Linked DNA regions of Homo sapiens: region 2 is linked to region 1. The links are contacts of gene promoters, found by promoter capture Hi-C in blood cells and fetal thymus (Javierre and others, 2016). All regions are on one chromosome and are shown on one strand. The core of a region is centred on a gene start or on the middle of the fragment in contact, and the rest is flanking DNA. Distances in the headings are between cores, read along the strand shown.

The links. The method cuts DNA at HindIII sites, captures the fragments that hold promoters and counts their contacts. A CHiCAGO score of 5 or more calls a contact.
Region 2: a contact is called between a fragment that was not itself captured here and the fragment with the promoter of SLC7A2 in region 1, in 1 of 17 cell types (endothelial precursors). The highest score is 6.0, in endothelial precursors.

Annotation. Positions count from the first base shown.
Region 1 is chr8:17,495,327-17,498,447 of GRCh38, forward strand. It overlaps SLC7A2 (solute carrier family 7 member 2), which reads left to right and starts at 1,762. Exons shown (of 13, transcript NM_001370338.1): 1 at 1,762-1,911. The HindIII fragment of the contact is 8,504 bases long and covers 1-3,121 here.
Region 2 is chr8:17,704,404-17,707,211 of GRCh38, forward strand. The region is part of intron 6 of MTUS1 (microtubule associated scaffold protein 1); the gene reads right to left. Among named protein-coding and RNA genes, the nearest start is that of MIR548V, 24 kb to the left of the region's middle. The HindIII fragment of the contact is 1,301 bases long and covers 900-2,200 here.

The sequences.
Region 1 (3,121 bases), core at 512-3,011:
CTCCCTTGAACAACGCCTCCTAGCCGTGGGATTGAGGAGGAATCTGGTGTTAAAAGTCCACACGCATCATTTCCCTTAATGTTATTAATGATAATTTGCATAAGGAATCTTTTTTTGACTGTAAAAATAAGTTTACTTTGACAGTCTCTATTACTTAAGACATTTGGTCTATCAGATAATATCTTCGTAATCATAGTGCTGTTTAAACTTTCAGTTTTTTTGTTCGTTTGCTTTTGTTTTTGAGACGGAATCTCACTCTGTCGCCCAGGCTGGACTGTAGTGGCACTATCTCGGCTCACTGCAACCTCCGCCTCCTGGGCTCAAGCGATTCTCCTGCCTCAACCTCCCGAGTAGCTGGGGTTACAGGCGCCCGCCGCCGCGCCCGGCTAATTTTTGTATTTTTAGTAGAGACGGAGTTTCACCCTGTTGGCCAGACTGGTCTCGAACTCCTGACCTCAGGTGATCGGCGCGCCTCGGCGTCCCAAAGTGCTGGGATTACAGGCGTGAGCCACCACCCCCAGCCTACACTTTCACTTTTTGATGAAATCCATGGATGGCTTCCTGAGATACATTGAGATTTTGTGTGTGTGCTATCTTCTGGAATGAAGCCCCACACCGTTTATTAGATGATCTTGGGGATATATGTCTTGAAGGGAAGAATGATTTAGAATATCACATTAAAATTGTATATGTACTGTGAGGCAGCAATACAAATCTGGCACTTTGCCAAAGTTATTACTAGTAGGTGGGTTAAAGGGACGTTTACTCCAATACTATGCAAAGTAAAGTGGACCTTTCTGTCAAACAAAAATAGTAATAGGCCGGGCATGGTGGCTCAAGCCTGTAATTCTCAGCCTGGTGGCTCAAGCCTGTAGTTGTCAGCACTTTGGGAGGCTGAGGCGGGAGGATAGCTTGAGCCCAGGAGGTCGAGGCTGCAGTGAGCCACGATTGTGTCACTGCCCTCCAGCCTGGGCGACAGAGTGAGACCCTGTCTCTAAAGACAAACCACACACACATATACACACACACACTGACACACACTTATTGTTCAATTCAGTGCGTGTTTTGCTTCGTTTTGGATGAAAATTAACAGGCTTTCACATTGTGACTTAATCTTATCAGAGACTCCTAAAGTAAACAATAGCGCAGTAGGAGAAACCCTGATTGTGTAACTTCTGCTCTTGCTCCCCTGGAAATAATGTCATTTCCTATAAACCCACCCCCAAACAATCGTGACTACGTATTCATACCACTGGAGTCTTCCAAAATAGCAACTGCACATTATTTATCAACGTTTAGTTTGCATTTGACAAAGCACATCCACCTGGGCTTCCATTTATCATTGCTATTATTATATTTTATTATTATTTTCTTATTTCCAAAATCTTTGTAGAATGGAAAGTAAACGGGGGGACCAAAACCCCACTTAGAACTCTGCTTAGAAGATTCGGAAATGCCCTTGAGGTTTGGTCCTCCCAGGAGAGCACGAAGTTTATCCTCGCGCGCAGCCTCTCTTCCCCGGCCCGCGCCCACCGGCCTAGCCCGGGGCTAGCGCCCGCCCACGTGTGCTCGGCTCCAGGCAAACCCCGCTGAGCAGCGGCCGCACACCGCCCACCCCGGGGATTGGTCAGCGCGGCCGGGGCCCGGCGGGAGGCGGGCTCGGGGTCGCGTTCCGGGAGCGCGGAGGAGGCGGTGCCGCCCGGCCCCGCGCCCCGCCCCCGCCCCGGGTGGCTACACAGAGGGGCGCCCACGTGCCCAGCCCTCCTTCTGCAGCGCGGCCGGCGGGCGCTCCTCTTCGCGGGACCAGCGAGGCGGCGGCCGCTGCTCCAGCGTCCCCCAGCCGCGGGCCCCCGACGCGCTGCAGCCGGCAGCCCACCGCCGCCTTCTTGGCGCGACCCCAACCCAGCCCCAGTAAGTTGCTAGGTCTCCAGCCCCGCCGAGAGGCCGCGGGCGAGGGGCAGCCCGGACGCTGGGGCCGGCGGGGAAGGAGCGGGGCGAGGGCGCCCTGGGGCCGGCGGGGAACTAGAGGGTCGAGGGCTCCCGGGGACGAGTCCAGCTGCGCGCAGCTGCCCTGAGGCCGCGCTCCAGCGAGTCTTCGTCAGGGAGTCGGGGCCGTGGGCTGGGGCTGAAGCCGTGGACCTTCGTCCTCGGGGCTGCGCCCCGGAATGCGCCTCGCCTCGTCCGGTCCCTGTGCAGCCGGCTCTGCCCGGGGACTTCGGGGACCGCTGGAACTGGGAGAGGGGCTGGCACGGCGACTTCGCGGGGACCCTTCAGTCACTATTTCCAGAGGAGCTCGGCGCACCCCTCTCCGGGTGGGCAGGCTGAACCTCCTGGCCCTGCACGCTGCCGGGGTCCCCGAAGCCGCCTTCGCTCCTTTTCGGTTCTTGGCTTAAATTAGAAAGCCGGCTTGGAGCGCTGGAAGCCCCTTCACATTCTGCAGGGGACCTGGTAAAATAGCCCGTCTTGGTGTTTGTATTGGGTATTTTAAAGTAACTGGGTGCCTTTTAAAATCCGTTTGAGATGGGCTGTATTTTATAAGCCCGTTTCATGAAACGCTGTTCTTGAGGCTTAGAGAATCTCCCAACCCATCACCCCAGAGTACCTGTCCGTTCAGAAAGTACCTTTTCATCCTCTTTTGACGCTTACATCCAGTCTATGGAGTAAGGTATTGAGAGATTGTCATCTTCAACTCGTCGAAAAGAAATATGCTCAGCAAAAGCCACAATCATATGTGGCTTTTGAAGTGGATATAGTGCCTGGATTTCAAGAGAAAAAGTACTCAGCCTCTTCAGAGTTGTAAATATTTGTGCAAAACTGGCTAAAGCCTTTAGGTGACTAATTTTGGACCAGTAATAAGATTTATCTAGACGTTTGTGCAGAAACACTAATCCTTTTAATGAGAGGATATCGTCAGATCTTATTCAAATAAGAGCTCTCTGAATCCCATCCAGGGCCGCCTGGGTTATAAAATTAGAATGTATGTGGCCTTGACTTGATACTTTTTCATTCTTGCCTGAGCTAGTCTTTAAAAGTTAATAATTATCTCCTCCGGAAGGTGAAACATTCTGTGTTTGTAATCTTTCTCTAGGAGATGTATAAGATGTGAATATTCTGTATTATG
Region 2 (2,808 bases), core at 300-2,799, 210 kb after region 1:
GATCTTATATTTAAGTCTTTAATCCATCTCGAGTTGATTTTTGTGTACTGTGTGAGATAAGGGTCCAATTTCATTATTTTGCTTGTGGATGTCCAGTTTTCCCAGTACTATCTACAAAAAGACTATCCTTTCCCTATTGTGTATTCTTGGCACACTTGCTGAAGATTAGCTAACCGTATATGCACGGATTTATTTCTAGACTATTTTATTCCATCGGTCTATGTTTCTATATTTGTGCCAGTACCATACTCTTTTAATTACTGTGTGTTGTAATATACTTTAAAATCAGGAACTGTGATGCCTCCAGCTTTGTTCTTTGTCAAGATTGTTTTGGCTATTTGCAGTCCTCTGTCATTCTATATGACTTTTGGGATTGTTTTTTCTATTTCTTTAAAAAAATGACACTGGGATTTTGATAGGGATTGCACTGAATCTGTAGATCTCTTTGGGTGGTATGTCCATTTAGCTTCTATTATAGAGTTGTCTTTATCTTGCTGATTTGACAGAGCTCTACACAGAGTATGTGCTAATATAACCTCAGTTTGTTCTTTGCTTATAAATACTGTTTCTAATGATTTTTATTCTTTTTATTTTTTTTGAGACGGAGTCTTGCTCTGTCACCCAGGCTGGAGTGCGGTGGTGCAATCTCAGCTCACTGCAACCTCTGCCTCCTGGGTTCAACGATTCTTCTGCCTCAGCCTCATGAGTGCTGGGACTACAAGTGTGCACAACCACGTGCAGCTAATTTTTTTGTATTTTTGGTAGAGATGGGGTCTCAGTACGTTGCCCAAGCTGGTCTTGAACTCCTGGCCTCAAGCAATCCACCTGTCTTGGCCCCCCAAAGTGTTGGGATTACAGGCGTGAGCCACCATGCACAGCCTGTTTCTAAGGTTTTTTAAAGCTTTTGTTGTCCTAATTATTAATCGTTTCTATTATACTAGTGTTCCTGGAAAGATCTTTTCTACTTAAGTCTATATTCTTAGTGTTTTAATTACTTTGTGTGTTTAAAACTAATTTATCTGAAATACTTTGTATATATGTGAAAAAGATCTAGCTCCTGCTAAAAAGGTAGTCACTGTCTCAAGAAGATTTACTAAATGATCCACTCCTCACAACCCCCAACACCAATTTGAAACAAAAATGTATCCCATATGAAAAGAGCATCTGTGTTTTAAGTATAGGGGGAAAGTTATGTTAATCATAAAACAACAGTGAAAAAACAGCCTTCTCTCTACTCTCACCAGAAGAAACCCTGGCAGCCTCGGCATCACCTCATCAGCAGGTTTGCAACTTGCAACCACTTCCCAGCACTTGGCAAAAGAAGGCAAGAAAGCCGCCCTGTTCTCCTGTGATGTCTTTACTAAGTAACTGCGGAAGGACCAGTGCATTTTCTACCTTCCAAGGCAGACACTCTGGCACCTGAGAGTGATGATCTTGTGTAAACCAATCAGGGTACTGGATAAATACAGCTCTGATGCCTCTGGTATGCCAGTGGCTTTAGTGTATGGTAGAACCAAGGTAATAATAGTATTCTGTGGTATGTGTGACATCTTCCTTATCAGCAGTAAGCCAAGATTTTTTTTAGAGTCAATATCAACTACAATCTTGCAGCGTCATAACGTTTAAATAAATTACAACAGTTAGACCCCAAGAGGTTGGTTCTTGACTTTAAGCAGTCTTTCCTGCTTGCTTTAGAGATTTAAAATAATTCAACTTCCTGGAAAAGAACCCTAAAAATAAGCCCCTAGAATTATAAAAACAATGTAAAAGATCGCCATCATTACCGTTCCTAGCAGCTGACTTAACTATTATTTGAGAACCTTTTATAAAACAATTCTATGATGTCATATTATTGCCTTTCTGGGAATTATTTCCCCAATATTCCCATGTCTCCAAACGAGAAATTTGAGACTTGGAGAGGCTTAGCAACTAGCCCAAGGTCAGGACACAAATAGAAAGCAGCAGGACGAAGGTTTAAACCAACATCCCGTGCCTTAAAAGTTCGTTCTCCTCCTGCTTTTCTACATTGTCTTATGAGATAATGTAATTTCTTTAATTGATAAAGGTCAAGCTAAAACAATGATGTAACATTTTAAACTATTATGTTAGTCAAAAAAATTTAAAAATAATATCCAATGTTGACCCAAGGTATGATGAAGCCAGGTGTCTTTTATGTCAACCACGGTATAAAATGATATGAAGCTTTTGGAAAACAATTTGGCTATTTGAGTGAAGTGACTGTAAATGGGTACATATTGTGATTTCCTGATACTACTTTTAATAATCTATCACAAGAAATTGAAAGTTGAAAGTGCTAATTGTATAGATGTTCATCATAGAATCATTTATGAATGTGATACAGAAGCACCCTAAATATTCAAAAGTAGTTAAATGTTACTGTATCTGCTAAATGTAAAAGTGATTACTATATGTTAAATGACAAAGCAGGATATACACTTATCTAAATTTCATTTAAAACGACAAATTTTAAAAAGCTGAAGGGTGATTTCTAAACTACATGCTAAACTTTTTGAAGTTTGGCAAACTGCTATAATTAAAAGTGATTATTTTACTAGAACTAAGGAATATGAAGTTGGTCAACTCAACTGTAATCTCCACCACTACTTACAGCTTTAAAATAAAAATATCTCAAAGCCATAGTACAACGATTAAAAATTTACACTCAGAGGAACATGTTTATGTGTGGAGGCAATGTCTTCTGTATCAGCTAAAATATGACTCATTTCCAGCAGAATATGAAAAAAGTCAAGGTGATTTTCAGTCACAGAATATCACAGTAGGGAGAAA